2 separate regions of the Homo sapiens genome follow, and region 2 is linked to region 1. Evidence: promoter capture Hi-C in human tissues and cell types (Jung and others, 2019). All regions are on one chromosome and are shown on one strand. Each heading gives the region's core, a stretch centred on a gene start or on the middle of the fragment in contact. The rest is flanking DNA. Distances are from core to core; before and after follow the strand shown.

The links. The method cuts DNA at HindIII sites, captures the fragments that hold promoters and counts their contacts. A contact is called where the count stands out against the background at its distance.
Region 2: a contact is called between a fragment that was not itself captured here and the fragment with the promoter of PRLH in region 1, in 1 of the 25 tissues and cell types used here (ovary).

The regions. Positions count from the first base shown.
Region 1 is chr2:237,562,210-237,568,413 of GRCh38, reverse strand. PRLH (prolactin releasing hormone) reads right to left here and starts at 1,840. Exons shown (of 2, transcript NM_015893.1): 1 at 1,741-1,840; 2 at 1,239-1,402. The coding sequence starts at 1,840. The coding sequence ends at 1,239. It also overlaps the pseudogene RNU6-1140P. RefSeq lists an enhancer at 4,491-4,991. The HindIII fragment of the contact is 10,563 bases long and covers 1-5,739 here.
Region 2 is chr2:237,728,030-237,734,516 of GRCh38, reverse strand. LRRFIP1 (LRR binding FLII interacting protein 1) reads right to left here. Exons shown (of 24, transcript NM_001137550.2): 9 at 699-743. Among named protein-coding and RNA genes, the nearest start is that of RBM44, 68 kb to the left of the region's middle. The HindIII fragment of the contact is 4,390 bases long and covers 1-3,944 here.

The DNA.
Region 1 (6,204 bases), core at 591-3,090:
TGAGATCAGCATCTGCAGGCAGGGTCCAGCAAGAGTCCAGGCCAAGCTTTGGGTTGGAGGGAGCTGGTGAAGCCTGTTACATGGCTGGGTGGAGGATGGGCCTTGGGGAAGGGGCTTGCACTCACAGAGCACCCACCCTGTGCCGGCAGGCGTGCAGGTGCCACGCCCACGGAGCTGAGGAATGAGGTAAGCGTTGCTGTTCTGTGGCATGCAGTTGTGGAAACTGAGGCTCAGTGATTCACGGGATGAACTCAGTCTCCCAGGTGGTGCAAGTGTGCCCCCAATGCCAACCTAAGCTACACCTGAGGCAGGATGTGGAGACATCCCCGTGTGATTTGAAAGGGACGCACGTGGCGTGGGAGCAATCTAGGTTCAAGTCTCCCTGCCATGGGTCAGAAACAATCCATGATGCATCTTCCCTGAGTAAGAGGGAGGCAAGACAGACTGCAATGAGAGGACTAGCAGTTGTAGGGGTTGCGGGGTGCAGGGATGAGTAGGGGGAGCCCAGAGGACTTCTAGGACAGTTAAACGACTCTGCGTGATGCCACATCGTGTTGTTGTACATTTGTGCAAACCCACAGGACGCACAGCGTGGAGAGTGGGCTCTGACATACGCTGGTTGGGGATGGGGATGTGTCAGTGTGGGTTCCTCGACTGGGACAAAAGCACCCTCGGTGGGGGTGTTGATCATGGGGGAGGCTGTGCGGATGTGGGGGAAGGGGGTGGATGGGAACTTTCTGTACCTTCTACTCAATTTTGCTGTGAACCTAAAGCTGCTCTGAAAAATAGTCTAAATAAAAAGGACTGAAGTTGAGGGGCTGCCCAGGGCTCAGGCTGGGGGCTGTGCTACCGTCCTATGGGGACAGTGTCCTGCAGAGTATGACGCGTGGCACCTCCTGGCCTTCTGCAGTGGACAGCCTGGGCAGCCACTCAGGGCAGCTTGGGTGTGGGGGTGGCTGTGGGCTGCCGGTGACCAAGGGTAGACCCAGCGCCCCAACTCAGTGCCAAGTGCCCTCTGCCAAGTCACAAAGCCTTTTCTTCCAAAGAAGTTGCTGGGCTCTGAGGTTCTTTCTAGTCTAATGTCCCAGGAGGGAACAACTTCAGAGTCACCACCACACAGTCGTGAATGTGTAACTGAAGACCAGAGCTTTTATTAGGATTGAAGGGAAAGGAGCCCGAAGGAGAGGAGAGGGTGGGGTGGGGGAGGCTCCAGAGTGAGTTTCTTGACAAGCTGGCTGTCAGCCATCCTGGGACGACATAGCACCGCCTTCCAGGGGGAAGCAGGTCAGCCGGGGTCGCAGGCCAGGCTTGGGGACGTCCCCCAGGGTTGCCCTCCTCCGACCGAAGCGGCCCACAGGCCTGATCCCGCGACTGGCGTACCAGGCAGGATTGATGTCAGGGGCTGGAAAGGAAAGAGCTGGAGCAGACCATGGGCACGTGTCCCCAGGGTGTGCTGTGCTCCCAGAGGCAGCGGGGCAGAGTGCACAGGCAGGGCCTCTCAGCCCAGTCGCCAGGCCATGCTGGGAGCCACCCGAGGAACAGGCACCCAGAGGTTCTGGCGAGGCCATTTCTGGGCGTGGGCTGGCTTTGGGAAGCAGGAGTTCAAAAAAGCACCAAGACTGACTTCCCTTTCCTCCCGCGCACCCCGTTCCTGCCAGGTTCTCGAGCGACCAGGCTGCACTAGGTTCTGGGGTGAGGCAGGGTGGGGTAAGGGAGGCTGACAGGGGTCCAGGCACTCACTGCGGATCTCCATGGAGTGCCGATGGGTACGACTTGCAGCTCCCCGCAGGGCCAGGCCCAGCATCAGCAGGCACAGGAGCCAGGCCCTCAGCACCTTCATCCCTTGGCTCCTCCGAGGAGGCCCCGCTGGAGGGGAGATCCAAATGAGGAGGACACGGCCTGGGGGAGAAGGGGCAGGAGCAGCGTCACACAGGCATCAGGGTGCGTGTGCACGGAGCTGGGACCTTGGGTAGAGTGAGCACTGTGTGTGAGAGAGAAGTATGTGCATGAGCCTGTGTGCATGTGAGTGCACAGCTGTGTATGTATATGTGTACAAGAGGGTGTGGTGTGTGCACATGGGTGCCTGTGTGTGTGTATGTGTGCAGATATGTGTGTGTATGTGTGTAGATGTGTGTATGTGTGCAGGTGTGTGTGTATGTGTGTAGATGTGTGTGTATGTGTGCAGATGTGTGTGAGTGTATGTGTGTAGATGTGTGTATGTGTGCAGATGTGTGTATGTGTGTAGATGTGTGTGTATGTGTGTAGATGTGTCTGTGTGTATTGTGTAGATGCGTGTGTATGTGTGCAGATGTGTCTGTGTGTAGATGTGTGTATGTGTGTAGGTTTGTGTGTATGTGTGTAGATGTGTGTGTATGTGTGCAGATGTGTGTGAGTGTGTGATGTGTGTATGTGTGCAGATGTGTGTGTGTGTAGATGTGTGTGTATGTGTGTAGTGTGTCTGTGTGTATTGGGTAGATGCGTGTGTATGTGTGCAGATGTGTCTGTGTGTAGATGTGTGTATGTGTGTAGGTTTGTGTGTATGTGTGTAGATGTGTGTGTGTAGATGTGTGTATGTGTAGGTGTGTGTAGTTGTGTGTGAGTGTATGTATGTGTGTGGATGTGTGTGTAGTTGTGTGAGTATGTGTGTAGATGTGTGTGTATGTGTAGATGTGTGTGTAGCTGTGTGTGTGTGTATGTGTGTAGATGTGTGTATGTGTGTAGATATGTGTGTAGATGTGTGTGTGTCGATGTGTGTGTGAGTGTGTGTAGATGTGTATGTGTGTAGGTGTGTGAGTGTACATGTGTAGATGTGTGTGTGAGTGTATGTGTGTATGAGTGTAGGTGTGTGAGTGTATGTGTGTAGATGTGTGTATGTATGTGTGTAGATGTGTATGTGTGTAGATGTGTGTGTAGATGTGTGTGTGTACGTGTGTAGATGTGTGTGAGTGTGTGTAGATGTGTATGAGTGTAGATGTGTGTGTATGTGTGTAGATGTGTGTGTAGTTGTGTGTGAGTGTATGTATGTGTGTAGATGTGTGTGAGTGTGTAGATGTGTATGTATGTGTGTAGATGTGCGCGTGCACATAGCCACATAGATCTCCACGTGTTCCTCTGATCTGTGCTGAGGTGGGAATAAGCACAGAAACAGCAGTTAAACCTGGCTCTCTGCATGGTCCCCCACCCGCCTGTGACCCCATTCTCTCCTCTGCGCAATGAGGTGTTAAGTGAGATGCTTCTGTGCGCGTCAGCCTCTAACGGGATCGGTCACATGTACATTGATGCTCATGATCAGAAAGCCCTCAGGAGGTGTGAGCTACGCGTTATAAAGGGGGGCTGTCATGGAACAGCCTTGGGTCCGTCTGTCCGCCTGTGTTAAGGGATCAGAAGGTGCAGCAGGCCTCTGCACGGCTGTGCATGTTGCACACCCAGGACAGCAGGTTTGTGGGGAGGTGCCCAGGGAGCTGCACAGGTGGAGGCAGCCCCTTGCTCAACCTCAGACATGGTTGGGGAGCTGGGGAGTGCCAAGCCTGGACCAGGCTCAGGGGCTGGAATCCGGTGCACGGCCCCTTCCCACATTCATCTCAGCGCCTCCTAATGCCTGGTTCCAGCCTGCCAGCCCAGCCCTGCTGGGGAATGTCAGCCGACAGCTGCGTGTCGTAGAATGAGTCTGCATCCTCTGCCCTAAGTAAGCCCACTCACCCTTGCCATGACGCTAGATCCAGTCTTCTGAGGCTCCAAGGTAAGCCTGTAGCATCTGGGACCTCTTCTCACAAGGCAGGGCCACTTCCTATCGGTGATGGGAGGAGGGGGCTGCCGTGGATGACACCAGGTGCATGGAAAGCCCCTTCCACCCCACTGGAGTGGAGGTGCTGAAATGCCTAAACAGCATCCATCATGGGAGACCTGGAAACACCTGCTGCAGGCACCCCTCCTCCTTCCTCCACCTGTGGCACTTTGGGTGCCATGGGAAGATGCCCGACAGCTCCATCTTGCTCTGGGAAGGATCCCCCTGCCGACCTTGACTTTCCAGCCCCTCCCTGAGCCCCACAGAAAGTGCTCTCCATCAGAACAATTTAAAATGCCTACACCTTTCCTTTTTAGAGACCTGGAGGGGCGTCCCATGCTAGGTGGGGTGGGGGGTTCCCCAGTCTAGAGGAAATGGAGGTGCCACCTTGAAGAGTGATAAAGAGATTCATCCCAGCAGGCTGGCCGTTTGCATTTCCTCTGGCACGGGACCCACGCCACCTGAGGGGTGTCCGAGAATGCTAACGATGCTCACTTGGCTCCTGATCCCCAAAGACCTGCCTCCCTGAGAGGTGGAGACTTTGGCCGGCTGCCCCGTGGGATTTCCTGGTCAGCGGAGTTGAATGGGACGTCTTTGTCTGGAGTCTCCACCATGGACAGCGCCGGAGCCTTGGTGCCCTGGGAGGGCAGGGTGGCTTTGGATGCAAGAACCCAGGGGCCAGCCGTCTCTGCCTCTCCTGCTTAGGCCTAGCCTCAGCTGCCAGGAGAGCAGGCAGGGTCTCAACCCGACCCACACTCAGACAGCAAGGGAAGATTTTACAAAGTAGCAAAGCAGAGGGCCCAAGCTCCAGCGCCTGGATGTGCAACTCACCGTTCTCGAGTGTGGTAGAGGAGCTGTCCTGGCTACGGGTGCAGTGGAGCCGAGGAGGCGGGAGCCTCTGTTCCCCTTTTATAGCCCCCGAGAGGACGAAGCCGGCACCCCCAGGTGCCCTCCCCCAAGCCAGCCTGTCTCCCTCACAGGGCGGCATCAGGAGCGAGCCTGTGTCTCTTCTCGTTCCTTTATTGAAAAAAAAAAACACAAAACAAAACTCATCAGCGATGCGATTTGTTCCTTCCTGGGTTATATAATTTCATTTGGACCAAGTGGTTTTAAAACACATTAGCTTCTCTTCTTCGTGCTCGCCTTCGGGCAGACTGCAGTGTCAAGTGTCCGCTGGGCCTCACAGATGGGGCTCCCGGACTCCTTCCAGTCCTCTCTCCCTGCCTTTAAATCACCGCATTCACATTCAAGGGAAAGGTGAGCAGGGACAGTCACCAAAGCCCAGCACTGCGGCTTTGTATCTTTGCGATCTTCTCGGTCCTCGTTCATTCACCTGCCTGACTGTCCTACCTGCATTTGTCGTGTGCACACCATGTCTTCCTCATTCTGTAACTTCCGCGCAGGGGCCATGCTAATCTTCTCTGTATCGGTCCAATTTTAGTATATGTGCTGCAGAAGCAAGCACTCTATAACTTACAACAGGTGGTTTCTAGACTTTTACAGTCTTTATAATTAATGTTTAACATAAACAAGTTTATTATTCTCATAAGACAAGCTTATTTTTTATTATAAAAGAAACAAATACATTTTTATTATTAAAGCAGTTCATATACATTTGGAAAAATATTAGTGCATACAACAAAATAGAAAAAATAGCACTGATCATGTTAAAGAAGCTGCTCGTGGCCAGGTGTGGTGGCTCATGCCTGTAATCCCAGCACATTGGAAGGCCGAGGCGGGTGGATCATGAGGTCAGGACTTCGAGAGCAGCCTAACCAACATGGTGAAACCCTGTCTCTACTAAAAATACAAAAATTAGCTGGGCATGGTGGCGCACGCCTGTAATCCCAGCTACTCAGGAGGCTGAGGCAGCAGAATCACTTGAACCCCCTGGAGGTGGAAGTTGCAGTGAGCTGGGATCCTGCCACTGAACTCCAGCCTGGGCGACAGAGCGATACTCTGTCTCAAAGAAAAAAAAAAAAAAAAAAGAAAGCCTCTCGCGTCTACATTTGATGCATTTTCTTCTAGTGAGCTTCCGACATATTTTCTGGGTAGATTGATCACATTTATACATGTTGAATTTCATTCTTTTCACTTAACACTGTAACAATCACATCCTCAAGTTGCTAAAAAATCTGCAAGTTTGTGCCATTTTAAGTAACTGTGCAATGTTCTACCATTTAAGGTGGATCTAAATCATTCATGTTCTGAATAATTATAGGTTATACTCATGACCACTTATATGCAGTTGAGTACAATCTTTTTAAGGAAAATTTCTGGAGGGGAAACTTGGCACGTGCTTCCCATGGATTGGCGCAGATGGTCAATGTGCCACTTCCATCCTTTAGGAAAAGCTTCTGGGCAATACTTTCCCCTTCAGGGAACAGGACACAGTGGCTTCTTCCTTGCTGCGTAGTTGT
Region 2 (6,487 bases), core at 500-2,999, 170 kb before region 1:
CCTGAGGTCGGGAGTTTGAGACCAGCCTGGCCAACGTGGTGAAACCCGTCTCTACTGAAAACACAAAAAGTAACTGGGTGTGGTGACACGTGCCTGTAATCCCAGCTACCCAGGAGGCTGAGGCAGGAGACTCACTTGAACCTGGGAGGCGTAGGTTGCACTGAGCCGAGATCGTGCCCTTGCACTCCAGCCTGGGTGACAGAGGGAGATTCTGTCTCCAAAAAAAAAAAAAAAAAAAAAAAAGGTTATTAACAAGACAATATAGCTACTTTGAGTATTTACTTTACGTTTCTTGCATAGCATAAGTACTTATATTTAAAACTGGAAATTTCCAAAGTAATATAGTAACATGGATTAGTATCTGTCCAGGTTACCAAAGCATTAAAAAGCCACCATTCTTTCTGCCAATAGGTAAAGTAAACATTGCTGTTGTTCCATTCCTGCCTAACGATCCCAGCAAACACAAGGCTTCCTGGAGACAGAGCAGTGTGGCAGCTACAGTCAACAATCGGGGGAGAGAAAACCCAGATCTGGCCAAAGGGGACAGACATTCCCCACTGGCACATGTAAGCTCCACGTGAAGGTGCAACTTCCCCCAGGGGGCTGGGAACAGGCACATCCCCGGCTCTGGGCTTGGTGGGGGCGGTGCATGCACAGTGGGAGGGGGTGCGGGGCAGCAGGGTGGGCAGCACACGCACCCGGTAACTCCCCGAAGGCCGGGCAGCGCTGTACAGACAGGAGGGCTGGAGGATGAAAGCAAATGGCAGGTTTTAAAAGCCTTGAAAAAACAGCAACAAATGACAGCAAAAGGCCATCACGATAGTTTCAGCATTCACCATAGCCAACTGCTGTACAGTGGTTAAACAGAAACAAACCGATCGAGGCACCGTGTTTTCTGCAAATTTGATAGATGCAAATCCAAAATTTACAAGAAAGATAACTGAGATGATTTTTAACTTTAAAACAGTAAACTTCCCAGCATCTTTAAAACACGATCATTTCTAGTCATTTCAGGCATTCCTGGAAGAAAGGGTCAGGGGATGAGACAGAATGGTGACAAGGTCAACACAACAACAGCAACAAAACCCACAGCTCAAATCCAAGGTTAACGACACACTTGGCAGTATTCAATACGCAGATGTCCACACATGAAGACAGGAGCAGGAAGAGTCTTTATTTCTATGCCAGGGGCCCAGCGACAGTCTTCAAGACACAAAGGGAGTCACTGCAAGGCTGCCTCAGCTGGTGTGGGAGGCACCCCCAGAGGAGCCGCGGTCTAGCCCTGTCAAAGGAGAATCCTGCCTAGCACACACGTCAGGGGGAGGCAGTGCTGGTGAAGGGACAGGCTGGGACACAAGGGCAGCTCCCAGTGTCCAGAGACTGTGCCACGGGACAGAATCTGGACTCATTTCCAGGGCACACTGAGCAAGTCAGGCAAGGTGCACGGCCAGGCGGTGATCACTCAGCAGCTCCAGTCGACATGCAAGGGAGAGGGACAGTTCAACCTCCAAATAGGACGTGTACTTTCACCTCTGACACCGACTTCCTTGGATTAGAATAAGACTCGATACCTATAGCTAACAGGCCAAGCACCTCAGGGCCGGACCTGAACCTGACCTTGTAAAAACAGGAAACAGCGGGGAGACCCAGCCAAAGGAATAACACTGTTCTGTCCACTTCTCAGGGACCAAGGAGGCAGATTAGGCACAAAAACCTTCCAAATTGCTTCCTGGACACATTTACAAGAGAAAAAATATTTTTAAAAAAACAAATGAAACCCCAAATGGGGAACAATTGCTGGAAAAGGAGGAGAGACCCAAGAGACCAATTTTTTGGACTCGAGTTTTTGAAAATATGCATTTAATAAAACCCTCCTTTTCCTTAAGTCTCCTTTTCTATATAGGTTCTAACTTATTTGACATGGTTTTTCTAAAAGATTGACAAAAGTCTTAGCAAACTAGTCAAGCCAATTAAAACAGTTGCTAAGCTTTGCTCTTGTGACTTTGTGTAGAGGAGGCTGAACTATCCACTAAATGTAATCAGCAATTAAAGTGATGCACAGAAGGAAAGGGAAGGAGCGACAAAGTGATGTGAAAAGGAGACAGACCCAGCTTCCATTTGGGGCAGACAGGGGTGTGGGAGCCAGGCCACCACCGGCAAGCCCAAGGCTGGAGCCGGAGAGTCCCTGTAATCAGAGCAAATGGGCAGCAGAGAGGAGAGAGAGGCTCACACCCTCACGGCATCGCAAAGGTACATCAGTCCAGTGAGTTCAGAGACGATTACCTTATACAACCAAAACAGTAACAGGCATGCACTCACGGGGGAGGGAGAGAACGAGGGTCAGAAGGAAATAAAGACGGCTGGGCCAGGCAACTGACAAAACTAGGAGATGGGGCCAAATTAGGACTTTTGAGTTCACGCACAGAAAAAAATATTTAATTTTAGTTGATATTAAATATTGAAATAAATTTTAATTGATATTAGGAAGAGTCATCAATACTACATTCTACACTGATACCTTTCCATTATTATATTTAAATAAAATTAAACGCACCACGTACTGGGCAGCAATAGATGTCTACAGAGCACAATTTCCAGGAAGGTTCTGAGGGTGGGTGAGTACAAGAGCCCTCGGGCAGCAAATCACGGGCACACAGGGCTCAGGGCGAGTTCACATGTGGCCCTGTTTGAATGAGTCAGCTCTCATTCTGATGTTTAACCCTTTGGATGTGGGTTATTTCTCTTAAATGGACTGAAGTGAGTCAGATGCAGGCTGAACTTGGGTGAATCGTTCATATCCAAAGATGAGATATTTATTGCCATCTTTTATTTTAGAGCAAGTAACTCAGCTTATCGAAAATGAGTTGGAAATGAAGTTTTCTTAATGACTAAGTGCCCTCTGCAACAGCAAAATCTCTTGAATTAAGAAAATGCCCAAAGCCTTTTTCAAGGTGTTAAACCCACCGATGCTTTGGTGTTCACAGCTGATCATATACTGAGTCAAAATTCACATATTGGGGGACAGAAGGGCCATCAGCTTACAGTGGGGGGATTTATTACAGACTGGGGGACTATGGGAAGGGTTGAGAAAGGTGGCAAGCAGTGGGCGCCATGGAGCTGCCAGCACCTTCTGCAGTCTCCCTGGACATGAAGGGGTTGGACAAGGGGTGAAGAGGTGAGGAAGAAGTGCCCTGGCAAGAAAAAGATACCCCCCAACCCCCCGGGAGGGAAACGAGAATAGGGGCTGGAAATTGGGGACAGGGCGGGGAAGGGTCAGAGCTATTTCTTCTAGAAGCATTTTAATGAGGTCAATGATACATGGGAGTGGCTAAAGGAAATCGCAGAGGAATTGCATAGATTTCATTTTCTGATTTCAGCGTGGGAGCTGCTACTGGAGTCACCAGGTTCACGGAACAGCTCCAACAGCACCCTGTGCTCAGCCACATGGCACCTCTCCTGGGTTCTGCCCATTCTGCGCGGCCTCTGCTCTGCTCAAATGGCTACTTACCTTGAAGAGCTTCCCCTCTAGGCTCTACCTGGTTAGTTCCTATTCTTTTCATTTGTTCTATTTGTTTGTTTGTTTGTTTGTTTGTTTGTCTGAGATGGAATCTCACTCTGTCGCCCAGGCTGGAGTGCAGTGGTGCAATCTTGGCTCACTGCAACCTCTGCTTCCTGGGTTCAAGCGATTCTCCTGCCTCAGCCCCCCGAGTAGCTGGGACTACAGGCATGTGCCACCGCACCTAGCTAATTTTTTATATTTTTAGTAGAGACGGGGTTTCATCGTGTTAGCCAGGATGGTCTCTATCTCCTGACCTCATGGTCTGCCCACCTCGGCCTCCCGAAGTGCTGGGATTTATAGGTGTGAGCCACCACACCTGGCCCTTCCTATTTATTAAGGTTCAGCTCACATCTTTTTTCCTGGCAAAACCAGTGTCTCCCTCCCATTCTATCTACTCATCTGTTCACTCCTGTACTGGTCTCCGGTGCCGGTGGCTTCTGTTCTAGATGTCAGTGCCTGGAGAGCACCCACCTCCTCTGCTTAGCTTTGTGATCCCAGGGCCTGCTTGATTTTCCTACCTAAACTAGTCCCAATTTTGCTGAGTAAATGTGAACCTAAACAAACACCAACAAGCCTTAGCAATTTTAGGGCTCTTAAACAATTTAGAAATTATGTTTATCAAGACCGATGCATGTTTGTAGAGAATGGGAAGGAACTCTGTTGTGTAAACATGTGGATTTGGATGAGACTCTGGATTTTCCTTCCAAGTCTAGTCCATGCCCAAGAAACCACCACAAAGTTTGCATGTACTCTTCAAAGTAGTTCTGTTTTCAGAAACTCTCAAGAATTCAAGAGCATTCTTCTAATTATTTTTTTCCTTTTGATTAATTCTAATTAGAAAATATACACAAAAACACGTCCTTTCATTGCAGCCAGCTGAATGCCACAATTCACATTCGAGCTGGTGTGGTCAAACGCAGCACACTGGAGTACATCTGAATGAAGGAGCTCATGTTAACTGCTGCTTTTCACGTCAATAACACAGCTACCCAAACAAAAATCCGTCAAACAGACACCGAAAGAGAAAAGTAGAGCTGAATCCACACACACAAGATTGCATGCTACAAAATCTGCGGTTTCTGAAGAGAATGTGAAAGATTTAAATGGAAACCAACCAACTTCTCCTCCCTGGATGATGACAAAGTAGAGAATCTGCTGTCACCGCTGTAGCTGGAATTCTGAGCACCAAAGAAGAAAACACGTTTAAGTGACAAGCACTTCCTTACGACTCCAAAAGCACCCCCATCCCATTCAAAAGGCGAACATGGAACAGCACAACCGAGCCAACACTAGGAGCCCAGGAACGCTAGTTTATCTAAAGACGCGAGGCACAAACAGTACAGCAGAGATTCTTAACAACTGGAGATTCTAAGCTGTATTTTCACCTTCAGTGTTTGTGTCTTGGTGATGCCAGGGGTGTATCTAGTACTGCTTTTCACAATCTCATATCCCTAGCACGATTCGTAATTACTGAGTTTCACACTGCGTTGTCAGTAAACTCCTTGTCTTATCTCCTTGGGTAACTAAAATTCCATTTATTGCAAAATTTTCAATCTTTCTTCAGCCCAGCCCGCCTGCGGGCTATAGCTCAGCCCTGGGGTGCCAGAAAGGTGGGTGGAGTGTGACAGCCTGCTGCCACCCGTCCACTGGAGAGCCCTTATCCACAGAGTGCAAATGCCCTGAAGGCCATCTTTACGTGTCTTGAGTATACATTTTTAAAATGTCGCATCCAGCCGGGTGCCATGGCTCATGCCTGTAATCCCAGCATTTTGGGAGGCCGAGGTGCGCAGATCACCTGAGGTCAGGAGTTCGAGACCAGCCTGGCCAGCAGGGTGAAACTCCATCTCTACTAAAAAATACAAAAAAAATTAGCCAGGTGTGGTAGTGGATGCCTGTAATCCAAGCTACTTGGGAGGCTGAGGCAGGAGAATCGCTCGAACCCAGGAGGCAGAGGTTGCAGTGAGCTGAGATAGCACCACTGCACTCCAGCCTGGGTGAGGGCACGAGACTTTGTCTCAAAAAATAAATAATTAAAGTGCATGCAATGCTAAATAGGTAAATAGGAATGAGCAAGTAAAAACAACTTGATCAGCTGGTTTCAGAAAGCTAAAGACGGCTTTGGTCGGGGAGAGGGAAGAAGGTCTGGGTGGGGTCACTCATTTGAAGCCCAAAAGTATAATTTAAGCATACACATGATATCTTAATATAACATAATTAAGATAAATGAAAAGAAATACTATTTTACACAATTAGGAATATTACTAAAAGAAAAAAATGAAGCATGAGAACAGGAAATTTTTAGACCATTTCACACAGAATGGACCTGTGGGATATCGTGAAGCTTAATGGAAATGTATCCAGTGTAACCTTCTAAAATCCCCAATGACCTCCTGTCCTTGATTAATCCAAAGCCCTCCCCACCCCCGCCCGGTCTCCCTAATGCCCCTGCCACTGGCACCACTCCCTCTCTCTCCCCCTAGAGCAGCACCCTTTCCTTCCACCAGCTCCTTCCTGCCTCCCACCCCTTAACTGGGAGCCTTCCAAGCATCTGCATTGTTTTATTCTCCTTTTCCTCTCCAGAAAAACACAGGTGCTTGTACACATGCCTTTAAGGTAAACATTAAAATTACAAATGACAGATGTGGAGACTGCGAAAATGTTGGATTTAGTATCTTTGAAAGCTGAATATACTTAATACACACATTATATACATACACCCAGGGGAATACAGTAATGAAAGAGTTAATCTTTAATTTCAGATCTTTTAAAACTTGAGATTCTTATCAATATCTACCCCTTATACTAACAATCAGAATGTTGGAGGGCTAACATTCTCAGAATGTTTGCTAGTTGAAAAACATTATCTTTCATTCCATCATGTGCTAGGAAAAAAAAGACAGACCGATTTTAAAATTTAAAAACAGCAAA